Regions from separate parts of the Homo sapiens genome. Here region 2 is linked to region 1. Evidence: promoter capture Hi-C in 16 types of primary human blood cells and fetal thymus (Javierre and others, 2016). All regions are on one chromosome and are shown on one strand. The core of a region is centred on a gene start or on the middle of the fragment in contact, and the rest is flanking DNA. Distances in the headings are between cores, read along the strand shown.

Region 1 (6,465 bases), core at 3,628-6,127:
TTAACATTCCTAGAGGAAACCTTCAACTAGTAGAGGATGGAAATCCATTACATGTCCCAGCCTCCCAGCATCGGGAGAGATAATTCCAAGGTGCATTCCACAGTTTCTTAGAGGGTCTCCAGCAGGATTGAACCCCCGTTGCTGATGACAATACTCAGCTCAGTAACATACTCTTTATTTTCTTCCTTCCCTGTCCCACATGGCCTGTCCCCTCCCTTCTGCTTCCTATAATCTACCTCCCATTACAAAGCCCAGACACAAGTTCTTATCTCAGGCTGTATTGGAAGGTGAGATAAAATTAAGTTGCCCCCAAAACATAATACCAATAATATCAAAAACTCAGCAAGGGAATTATGGATTTTGGATACCAAAAATCAGGACGGGAATTATGTACAAAGAGCTCATTTCATCCCCCACCCAAAGCAAAAAAACACAAAATCAAAATGTGGCTCTCTGCTTCAAAGAAGGGAGGGGAAATATATTGAGAATATACACAAACTAATAATCCAGTGAGTTATCCTGCTCCAACATTATCATCTCATCACTGCCATTGTTATTGTCACACACCAACAATACAGGTAGAGGTCAGTCAGGGTCCCCGCCCTTCAGGGAATCACAAAACTGGAAAAAGATTCACAGGTCTAGGACCTGTTTAAGGCAATTCCTCTGCCTAACACAATGTTCTTGCTGTCCCAGCTATCAAGAAAGCTTTAGAGAACACAGTGTTATACACACCAAAAAATAATAATGAGTGTCAGGGGCAGGAGATAATGTGTTATGAGTCTTCTGTCCCAATTTGGAGCCCAAGTCACATCCAGACAGACAACTGATTCTCTTCTCTGTGGTTATAATTCCTTTAATTTCCTCATGGATTTCAAACTATTCTTCAGGAAAAAGAAGGGATTCTGAGGCTAGCAACAAGGTAGGCTTGATAATGTGTGGTCCCAGCGATCTGAATAAAGATCCAAAAAGAAGGTTGCCCTGTATACAATTCCAGATGCTTGTCCTTGGATCCCCTGCCTAGAATATCAAACTGTCCTCTTTACTGTTTGATAACTGTGGGCAAGAGAGCAATGGAACCAACAGAGTTGGTAGTGCTAGCTACCAAAAGTTTAGGACAGAGGTTACAAAATCAAATGTCTTCAGAGCTCAGGCAGGTAGTATAAAGTAAGGATTTGTGGAGATAGACAAATTGACGTGTACGTGCCTCTTCCGAAAGATGCTTCTGAGCTCAAGCCAGTTAAAATCCAGTATTGATAGACATTGCACATTTTTAAGAGCAACCAAGATGTCAAATATCTAGATTTTACATGAAAGCTCTTTTCCATGGTGGCAACTAATCCAAATGTTTTCTGCTCACTCCATATTGGCCTGCATAGGATGTCAAAGAAAACATATTTGTGGGCCGTTTTGGCTCTTGAGCCACCAGTTTGGACATAAGTTATGAGAGTTATCTTCTGTTATTGGAGAATGTATTGGAAGTGCACCATAATGGGCAACTATAAAATTTTGAAAAGCAGAAAGACTAGAGAAAAGTGTTAGGTCATGAGCTGTAAGTGAGCAAGAGGGACTGTACTCAAATTCACAAACTTATGCTCTCTAATTTGGGACCAGTTTCAGCACCTGATATGATGAGGTATAAAGGATAATGGTGGCTGTAACATTATGACCCTTACTGCATCATACAAAGCACTGACCCAATAGCTGCCTCCTCCTGTCACTGACTTAACTGCCTGAGTAGCATCTGGCTTAGAACTAGTGGTTCTGTCCTCTAGCCCTACTTCCCTATGCTCCTTAAAAGACCCTTTTACCAGAAATCTAAAATTACCAGTCCCATCAAGACAAGTATAAAGATAGCCTACTGCAGAAAGGCATCCAGAAAGAGGAAGAAGGCCCTGAGTAGAAGGAACAAGGTACCACAAAGGGTGAATGAACCTCTTAGGAAAAGGAAGCATAATGCTGACACTTAGATGAGACCCAAAGAAGGAGGATTTAACCTCCCAGGGGCTGGAGGAATATGAGGGTAGATAGAACCCTGCCGGCCAGCTCTACCTACCTCTTCCTTTGTGTGACTTTTTTGAAGGTATAATAGCACCACTCTGACTTGGGTCTTAACTCAAGCACATCCTAAGCTGTATGATCTTAAGCAGGTTAATCATTCCACCTGTTTCAATTATGAAATCAGGACCCTGATTACCTCGATGCTGCAACTGAGATAAATGAAATGATGATTCCACAATCTGTAGTGCAGGGCCTGACAAACTGCAGTCTGCAGGCCAAATCCAGCAAAGTTAACAAGCCAGAGCTATTCACTTACTATGGCTGCTTTCACCTGCAAAGAATAAAACATCTGCTATCTGGCCCTATAACTCTGTAGGGGCTCTCTCAAGTGGCCCTATCACCTCGCATAACTCACAAAAGCTGCTGTAAGTTATAACTTGGGTCATGGTTACTTACCTCATACAAGACTTTCATCAATAAATATTGAACGCCCTAGACAGAAGATTCAAATATTTCACATCCTGAAGTTCTCCACAATTATCAATTTCAAAATTTTCTTCTAAGTTTCAAGTTTGAACATGTGATGGATCTCCTGGCACTGTTAAATTTATTCTGGTTTTCTCCTGGACTATATGTCTTAGACTATATTTACTATATGTACATTTCTTGGAGTACATGGACATGTGAACAGGACCTGGCACATGGGCATTTATTCAATAGTAAAACATTTCCTATGTAAATGTAGCAAATATAGTGAGGGTGTCATGGAGGACAGCACCAGAATGACACAGGGAAGGCTATTGACCTCTTTGCCTTTGCCTTCTCCCTGAGATTATGCCAGTGTATGCACAACATTATTACAGCCTACTACTGCCAGACACACTTATAACCCATTAACTGTAGCCTGTTACTACCAGAGGTGCCTGTAACCCGTTACCACGGCCTACTACCATAATACATGCTTATATCCAATGATATAGCTATATTACTACAGCCTGCTACCACAAGAGCGACTTGTATTATTACTACATACACTACCTCAGGACACTCTGCTCTTGCGCCCAGGAACACCTGCTATAACATCTTTAAGCAATAAATTGCCACCTCTCCACACCCCTACACTGAGTAAGGCCAAATGTGACCACTGAAGAGCAAAAGCAATCATCAAAGAAACCCAAGAAGCTCATCAACATCTAGGAAATAGGACAAAACCCTGGGGCCCACCTAAGTCAGATGAACAATAAAAAGGCAGTTTCTGCATCTTTCATGTTCCAAAGGAAATAGAGAATTGAGTTTTGAGGCCCCAACCTTACAGATTAGCTTTGGTCTTGCTGGTAAATGGTTTTTAAAGATTGCATTTATGATTCTCAGGGGGAGGCAAGCTGTGAGTAAGAGATGATTTGGTACCTTTACATAAGTTATACAAGGTTCAAGTTTAATTACACAAGGGATTCTATAAAGCTGTAAGAATTATTTGATCCCAAATTGCCCAAACACTACGTTATATCTAGAGTATACTACCAGGAGAAGCTCGAGGATGTTGTCCTTTAAAGAATTCCAAATGCACATATGCCTTTGTAAGTGTACGTTGTGTCTTTGCACTTCCTCACATTTACAATTCCTGGACTTCATGATGGATGACCTGGGCTTGTTTCTAGGAAAACAAGCATCTTCATTTCTGCTAACAAATGAATGAGAAGTGTGAGCTGATGGTGATCTGGTGGTTCACCTGGCTCAGCCTGCACTGGCCTTGTTTAGACGGTCTATCAAACCAAATAAGCCCTTATCATATCCAGAAAGCATCTCAATTTATCCCAAACAAAAGCCCAACCATGAACATCATAGTAAATCTTTCAAACAGGAAAAAAAGGGTAAACTACATATTTCCTCCTGACTCACATGGTTCTCCCTCTGCTTACAACACCCATCTGATTACATGAAGGGCTAGGGTACTAAGGTCACTCAACGTCACTCTTCAGCTAAACAGTAACACTCAAAAACACCTTTGTCAGAGAAAGAAGAGAAAGTTTATTTAGAGACACTGGCGTGGAGAGGAATAATCAATGATGATTATGGTGGTCTTGGGCCTGCACCAAAAGCCCTTCTTTGTGCTGGCCCTGGGAGAACACATGGCACAGAAAAGCCCAGATTCAAGCAGCTTCTTCAACCAAAACATTGACATATTCTGCTGACTAAAGAGACAAATAAGAAAATTAAAGATGTACACTCCAAGAACCCACGTGTTTTTCATATAGGGACCTTCCCAACTCAGTTTCCCAGAGATTCCATCAAATACAGACCTTCAAAGAGTTTGAGAGTACCACCTCAAAGAGGTAGGTCCAGGGTTTGTGTGATCTCTCTTTACTGCATGGACAAGATTAGAGGGAGGCTCTACAGCACAAAGAAGACAAGCCATGAGCACAGAAAGCCTGGCTCTTCACAGGACTTGTGGGGAAGCAGGGAGAGAGTTGGGTGGTTGTTTTTTATTGGTGGGTGGGTGTCGGTGAGGGAAGGGATTGTTAGAGAAGTACTGGGGCCAGTCTTTAGAAGGTGAGAGGTGATCTTTGCTTTTGCCAGAGGCATGACAGTTTGGGAGATTGGCCAAGCATGGGTGACAATTCCTCAGTCCTGAGAGTCTCCTCTGTAATCAGAAAATGTCATCAATACCTTGTCCTCCCATTCCTTTTCAGAGATAATTTCCTTTCTTTTTGCCTCTGTGGGGAATATTTCAGATGACATGCTGAACACCTATACCTGCAGGCCTTCACCATCTTCTTCTGTTCCTCAACTCTGGTCAGCATGAGGTTTTGGTTGAAACAGCAAGATCTGCCTGCTCCTACTGTTGTCCCTCTCTCCTACCGCAGGTCCATTTGTCCAAAGCAGTCCACCCATCATTCCCTTTATATAGTGGCTTATGACACGGGCCCTCCTGGTAAAGGGACATGATGATTGATGGTGCCTTGTCACAATGGCTGAAAGTCAACATGAGAGCTTGGTTGAGTGGTTGGGGCAGTACTGAAATGTTGGATAAAATTAAGAAAATGCCTAGTAGGACTCCTTAAATCAGCTGGCTGCCTATCAGCCAGCCCATAGGAACCCCCAAGAATTACAGAAACCAAGCAAAATTCTCTATGCCTTTCAAACCCAAGTCTAGCTTTTTTTTTTTTTTAAAGAATAACCATTTATTAAAGTAGATACAGAACACTTGTTTGGCCAAATTTTAATACTGCTTTACATGTTTTGTTTGTGAAACAATTCGTATTACATTTATAACCAAAAATTTCAACTGGTAACATATTTAATATTCACTGTCAAACACACAGTTGATAATCTTGAGGGGAAAATACATGAAAGGCATATATACAATTATAGAAGCTCTTATTGTACATGTAGCATATTTTGATCTCCAAGTCTAGCATTTTTAAAGCCTTTGTCTGCTGACACATTTAGGCATACATTCCTGGTTTCATTGCCTTACTTCTAGAAAGAGATCTTGAGGGAGGATTTGAACAATGTACACTTTTTAAGTGAATTTATTGAAGTATAATTGATAAACAATAACCTGCACATATTTTAAGTGTACAATTTGATAAGTTTTGACCTAGGTATACACCCATAAACCATTACTACAAATCAAGATAAAAAGTACAATTAAAGCTCTAGTCCAGTTCATTTTTTAAATCTACTACCCCTGCCCTATCCCCTAGAGCCCCACAGAAATATAGCTTCAACTTCAAGAAGCTTGATATCTGGCCAGAGAAGCCATCTTCTACTGGTAGATATAAAATGTGACCAAATGAAGAAGTAACCATAGAGTATAGGGCCTTTGTTTTGAGTCTTGAAGCACATTTGGAAGTTTAATAGGTGAAGATGAAAAAAATAGTACAAATCACTGAATTTCCTATGAAGACCTGTACTTTTTCTACTTTTTAAATAACCCAGTTTGGTTAGAACAGAGGTTGCCTGAAGGAAATAATGAAGGACATGGCTAAAAAGCCAGGTTGGGGTTGGGGATGGGGATATGGAAATTGAAATGCTGTAGTCAAAATGTCTACATCTTGTTTCACTGGGCAGCAGTTTGCATGAAAAAAGAGACTCCAGCCACCTCCACAGTGATGTAGTCCAAAGGCTGATGAAGGGCTGCCACCTGGCATCATGGAAACATGGGCCTCATAAAGGGGGAAGAGCCCAACAACACACCTGGGCTTCAGGCCTAAGTAATGAAGCTCTGGGTGGTGCCAACCAGAAGGGTCAGGTTGGCAGGAAGGTCCCAAGAAATGTCGTCTCCTCTCTTCCTTAAAAGCCTGGTTTCAAACACACTTCCTGAACAAGGGCTGTAGTGATTCACCCACTTCAAGAAGGCCAACTTCATGTTGAGGCCATAGTGGGTGGAGGGGTGGAGGTGATCATCCAAGCATCCCCCAGTGTCCCTCTAATATCCCACCTCTTGCAGATGCCCAAGAG
Region 2 (6,452 bases), core at 2,944-5,443, 280 kb before region 1:
GAGTCTTGCTCTGTCGCCCAGGCTGGAGTGCAATGGCGCAATCTCGGCTCACTGCAAGCTCCGCCTCCCGGGTTCACGCCATTCTCCTGCCTCAGCCTCCTGAGTAGCTGGGACTACAGGCGCCCGCCACCGCACCCAGCTAATTTTTTGTATTTTTAGTAGAGACGGGGTTTCACCGTGTTAGACAGGATGGTCTCGATCTCCTGACCTCTCGATCTGCCCGCCTCGGCCTCCCAAAGTGCTGGGATTACAGGCTTGAGCCACCGCGCCCGGCCTTTTTTATGCTCTTAATGTTAAAGCAAGAGAAAAAAAATCGGCCGGGCGCGGTGGCTCATGCCTGTGATCCTAGCACTTTGGGAGGCCAAGGCGGGCGGATCATTAGGCTAACAGGGTGTAAACCTCGTCTCTACTAAAAATACAAAAAAATTAGCCGGGCGTGGTGGCGGGCGCCTGTAGTCCCAGCTACTCCGGAGGCTGAGGCAGGAGAATAGTGTGAACCCGGGAGGCGGAGCTTGCAGTGAGCCGAGATCGCGGCACTGCACTCCAGCCTGGGCTACAGACCAAGACTCTGTCTCAAAAAAAAAAAAAAACAAAAACAAAAAACCTTGCAGTCCTATCTCACCTTGGGACCTGAGCTCTCAAAACACTTCCTCCCCTTTAGCTGGGGTTCACACCTTTTTCAAAGGACTGAAATATCTTGTGACCTCACTCCACAGGCAAGCTGATGGGTGTGAGGCTCTCAGCTGCTGCGCGGTTGGTGTGAGGGCTGGACATGCACCCTGGAGCCTCTGTGTGCTCTGGAACAAGGAGGGAAAGTCACTCTAGCCTTGTCTCAGAGTCTAGGAAAGGTCAGAAGCAGTGGCTGGTGAGCAGAACAGCTACTGGAGGTGGAAGCTGCTAGGGATGGTAAAAGGTCATTCTCAGCATACATAATTCAGAAGGTCTGAGCAGAACTTCCCCTTTGTCTAACGACCCCTTGTAGCAAGCTCAACCTAGACAGAGGGCTAGGTCTCTAGATCCTCAAACTATTCAAAAGGAGACCTCCACTATTCTAATATGATACATTTTAGCAGTAAGTGCTGTTTAGTTTTTACTGCAAGATAATTTTTACCATTTAATCTAATTCCTTCTTGTTTTATCCATTCTTGATGACAAGGTTATATCTTTTAGACAGCAATAAGTTGGATAAATGGCTAAGAGGGTGGATTCTAGCCAGTGTCTCACTCTTACACATTTAGCACAGTGTCCTATATTCAAGCTAATGTTCCCCAGTCCTCCCCTGCTACATACACATATACCTCAAGCTCCTAGTGAGAGCTGATTCTTTCTATTATCCACATAAAAAACCTGGAGGCCCAAGAGCGGGAGTCCTAGGCTGCCTGTGAGAGTCTGTGAGTAAGGAGGCCCAGTTCTGCTGCTCAAAAGTGAGAGTCTCTTCAATGAGTAAATCTTCTGAGTTGTATCCTGGCATAAAGTTAAAGGAGAAAAGACATAGGGCTAACCCCAAGCCAGGACGCATATACCCACAAGGGAACACTAAAAACTGGCCACTGCACTATCCCCCTTCCTGGGCCTGCAGACAAATCCAGGCTGACTGGAGTCTCAGGAAGACACGCTGACATAAAGGATTAAAAGAAATTATCGCTAGGAATGAATTACACCATCAAGGGTAAGAATTAGATTGTGGATCATTCAATAATGTGACAAACAACCTAGCTACTGGGGAGGCTGTGGGGGGAGGATCACTTAAGCCTAGGTGTTTGAGGTTACAGTGAGCTGTAACTGTGCCGCTGCACTCCAGCCTGGGAAACTGAGCAAGACCCTGTCTCATAATAATAATAATGTGACAAACAATTACATGAATATTTTTAAAATTTCCGTAATGTTGCACAACTGGAATGGTAAATTAATTGGATTGATTTTCCAGTTTTTACTACGACCATTTTGGGTAAGAGATTCTGACTGGCCCTTTCTCTCTGTGCTCAGCTGTGTGACTTGCTTTGGCCAATGGGGCTTAGCAAACAAGGTGCAAGCAGAATCTTAAGAAACACTTGCACTTGTGAATTGCTGTTTGCTTTCTTGCCATTCTTGTTTGTTTGCCATAAACACGAGATATCCCTGAGCTAACTTGCTGTAGGAATGTGAGAGACACAGAGGAAGGCCAAGTTTCCACAGCTAAGACCATCCTAGACTAGTCAGTCCACTTCTGTTCTGCAGCTGATAGCAAATTCATGAGTAAGCCCAAAGAAGCTTAGCTGAGTCTGGATCAGATAAATAGAACTGCCTATCCAACACGTAGACTCATGATACATAGCAAATGTTTTTTGTTTCAAGTGATTGGTTTTGTGGTGGTTTGTGACATAGCAATAGCTAACTGATACAACTTTTTCTGATGAGATAATATTGAAGAGAAATACTGGGAGAGCAAGCACGTAAGCTAACAAGAGAGCTATCACTGTGTCTCTGTGAGATGCTGGAGTACTAGAGAACATATCTTCTCTCTTTACTTCCCTCCTGCCAGTCCTCCCATCCTATACAGCATGTTTACTGAAGTCAATCTGTGTATATTTTTGTTTATGACTGTTTAAAGGTGATCATGGGCAGAGGTGTGGTGTGTATTCAAGTATGTGCACTTGCATATATGCTGTGAGATCAACTGGGAAGAATCTGAAATTGGATTGTAGAATTTAGCCTGGACTGTCAGCTCTCTTTTATCTTATTTTTGAGTTTATGAGCCTTACGCCCCATTTCAGATAAATCAGCAGGTATTTGGCACATTTCCTCATCATTCACAGGGATGAAAGCTACGAAAGTCAGTGGCAGGCTTTTGTAAAAGACATCAAATGGGTTAGGAAGTAGGATGATTGGGGGAAAGAGGAAGAAGAACAGGGTAAAGATAACAAAGAAAAGTTTATATTTCGGCTATCTGGAGAATCAAATATTTTTCTAGCAATCTCTAAGCAGAATGTATTTGTTGATTTGCCAAGAAAGCTCTTCACAGATTAAAGCACTAGCTGGATGGCGACACAGGAGTTGTCCCAACTGTCCTTCGGATGCAAGGCATGCCTTTGTTAACATCCTGGAGATACTGACGAGAAACACATCCCTCTTGGCCTCATATTTCTCCCACTACATCCAGAGCCCAGAGCCAGTGTGGTAGATGACCAAAATGACCATAATTCTTTGCTGCTGACTCCCATCAAATGGTGGGGCCTATTCTCCACCCCCTTTAAATCAGGATTGTCCCAGTGACTCACTTTCACCAGCGGGACATGAGCAAATGTGACACAAGCAGAGGCTTGGAAAGAACTTCCATATTGGACCTTGCTCTCTTGCTACTCTTGGAACCTGGAGCCACCACATGAACAAGCCTGAGTTACCCTGTTAGAAGGTGAGAGATAAGTAACACAGTTTCCCTCATTTTTCTAATCAATAGCCATCCAAACTCAGAAGCAGATCTACTTAGTTGATCAACTGCTGGTTGAAAACCAAGAGTGAACCAACTTAGATCAACAGAACACCTAACTGAGCTTAACCTAAAGTGCTGAACCACAATTGAGTTAAACTAGTGTTATTGTTTCATGTCATGCAATTTGGGGATGAAATGTTAACTGACTTGGCTTACAGCAGAGTTTTCCTGAGACAATAGATTTTCACAAAAATTAAACTAAAAGACAATTTAATTTTGAACTATAGACTGATATTTATTTGAACTCAATCTGATTTCCTTTAGTGTCCTTCAGATAACATTTAGAAAAGGGTAAGCACTAGAGGCTATTTATAAATACCTTTGGGAAATGTTCCCTCTTTGGAATTATTCCCATCACAGATGATACATACCTGAAATATTTATAATCAGGTTATGTGTTAAATAATAGATACTGGTCAATGAGCTACATAGACAGTGAGGAGCTGCTATGACTCCTGAGGTTAACCATCAGAGAATGATTACTATGTTCCAAACACTTCACACAAGTTATATGCAATTATTATTATCACTATTTTACATACAAGAAAATTGAGGATAAAGAAGTTGAGTGATAGTTTTGAAATGCTGAATCCAAGATCAGAGGACTTTCTGCTATACCACAGCGCTTCCTTATGCCCTAAACCAAAGGAAAAAAAAAAAGGCCAGGCATGGTGGCTCATGCCTGTAATCCCAGCACTTTGGGAGGCCAAGGGAGCGGATCACAAGGCCAAGCAATCAAGAGCATCCTGGCCAACATGGTGAAACCCTGTCTCTACGAAAAATACAAAAATTACCTGGGCGTGGTGATGAGCACCTGTAGTCCCAACTACTTGGGAGGCTGAGGCAGGAGAATCGCTTGAACAGAGAAGGTAGAGGTTGCAGTGAGCCGAGATCATGCCACTGCACTCCAGCCTGGTGACAGAGAGAGACTCCGTTTCAAATTAAAAAAAAAAAAAGAATTTAATATGCCAAACTCAGGTGTGATTTGCACCAGACCGAAAAAACAGTGATTTAGTAAACTCATTCACTGTGGTATGCATAATAAATTAAGACAAAGGAATCCTCCATTCAGTAGGAGAGCAAAAATAAATGAAATAAGTAATGAACAAACAATAGAGAAAGCTAATAAAGCAAAAAGTTTATTCTTTGAAGATATTGATAAAATAATAAATGTCTGGCAAAACAGATGAAGAAAGAAAGAGAAACACAAATTACTCATATCAAGAATGGAAGAAAAGATATCATACAGATGTTTCAGATTTTAAAAGGACAATAAGAATACTATGAAAAAATTTATTCCACTAATTCCCCAATTTAAAACAAATGTACAACTTTCTTTAAAAATACAGCTTGCTAAAATTGACAAAAATTAGAAAATTTTAATAACTCTTTGTCTATTAAAAAATTAAATTCGCAATACAAAATCTTTCCACAAAGAACACCCTAGCCCCAGATGGTTTTACTGGCGAATTCTATCAAACATTTAAATAAGAAACGAAATCAATCACATGGAAACTATTTTAGAAAATAGAAAAGAAGGAAACACTCCTTAATTTATGCTATGAAGGCAGTGTAACTCTAATAACAAGCTATCAAAAGTTCCAAAGACCTTGTAAGAAAAGAAAGTTACTAACCAACATCTCCTCAAACCATAGACAGAAAAATTCTTAAAAATAGATTAATGGCTGGGTGTGGTGGCTCATGCCTGTAATCCCAGCACTTTGGGAAGCCTAGGCAGGTGGATCACAAGGTCAAGAGATCAAGACCACCCTGGCCAACATGGTGAAACCCTGTCTCTATTAAAAATACAAAAATTAGCTAGGCATGGTGGCACGTGCCTGTAGTCTCAGCTACTCAGGAGGCTGAGGCTGGAGAATCGCTTGAACCCGGGAGGCAGAGGTTTCAGTGAGCCGAGATTGCGCCACTGCACTCCAGCCTGGGCAACAGAGTGATACTCCATCTCAAAATAAATAAAAATAAAGAAAGAAAGAAATAATTAGCAAATCAAATTAAGCTGTATATTAAAAGACCAAGTAAGGTTTATCCTAGTAATGCAACCTAGGATATCTAGGAATGCAAGATTGCATTCCTACAATAACTTAACTAATAAAAAAGAACCCAACTATATAATCATCTCAATAGATGGAAAAAAAGACATTTGAAAAAATTATCACTCATTTATGATTATTTTAAAAACTCTGAGAAAACTAACAGAGGGAATTTCCTCAAACTGAAAAAAGCAGCCCTTTCTGCCAAATCCAAAGAAGCAAAACCAAAACTCTACCATTAATACCATATCAATTATTAAATATTATACACCTTCTCCCTAAGATTGAGAACTAATCAAAAATATTTGCTATAGCCATATTTATTCAACATCGTATTAGAGGTCCTAGCCAGTGCGATAAGGCAAGACAAAATGTTAAAAATATACAGATGGAAAAGTAAAAAGTAAAACTGTCTTTATTTGTAGATGACAGAATTGTTTACATAAAAAAACCCTAAGTAATCTATAAAACAACTACTGGAACTAACGAGTAAATTTAGCAAGTTTTCAGGAGGTGTAAACAATACAAAAAAACAATTATGAAAATAAATTTTAAAATGTAATTTTAAAATACTGTTTCGGCAGCATATAAAAGCATAAAGAATTTGGAGATAAGCTTGACAAAAGGCATGTAAGAATACTATATAATACTGTATAATAAGGCTGAGAAAAATTAATGGAGACCTAAATAGAAAGATATGCTGTGTTCACGGATTGAAAGATTTAACATTGTTTGATGTCAATTCTTCCCAAATTGACCTATAGATTAAAAATTCCCTTTGTCCTTTTCAAGAAAGTGATGGTAAATTCTAAAATATATAAACACACAAATAATCTAGACCAAAAATTCTTGAAATAAACAACAAAGTTAGGTAGCTCAGATAACCTTATCCCAAGGTTGACTACATAGCCTTGGTAATTTATCTAATGTAATAT

The links. Contacts are between HindIII fragments. The CHiCAGO score rates a contact against its expected background, and 5 or more counts as called.
Region 2: a fragment that was not itself captured here is called in contact with the fragment with the promoter of TESHL in region 1 in 1 of 17 cell types (erythroblasts); the score reaches 6.6 in erythroblasts.

The regions. Positions count from the first base shown.
Region 1 is chr2:216,869,184-216,875,648 of GRCh38, reverse strand. It overlaps TESHL (testicular germ cell expressed HSF2 interacting lncRNA), which reads right to left and starts at 4,877. Exons shown (of 2, transcript NR_130782.1): 1 at 4,669-4,877; 2 at 4,010-4,193. The HindIII fragment of the contact is 5,034 bases long and covers 711-5,744 here.
Region 2 is chr2:217,143,740-217,150,191 of GRCh38, reverse strand. No RefSeq gene overlaps it. Among named protein-coding and RNA genes, the nearest start is that of DIRC3-AS1, 140 kb to the left of the region's middle. The HindIII fragment of the contact is 3,882 bases long and covers 2,253-6,134 here.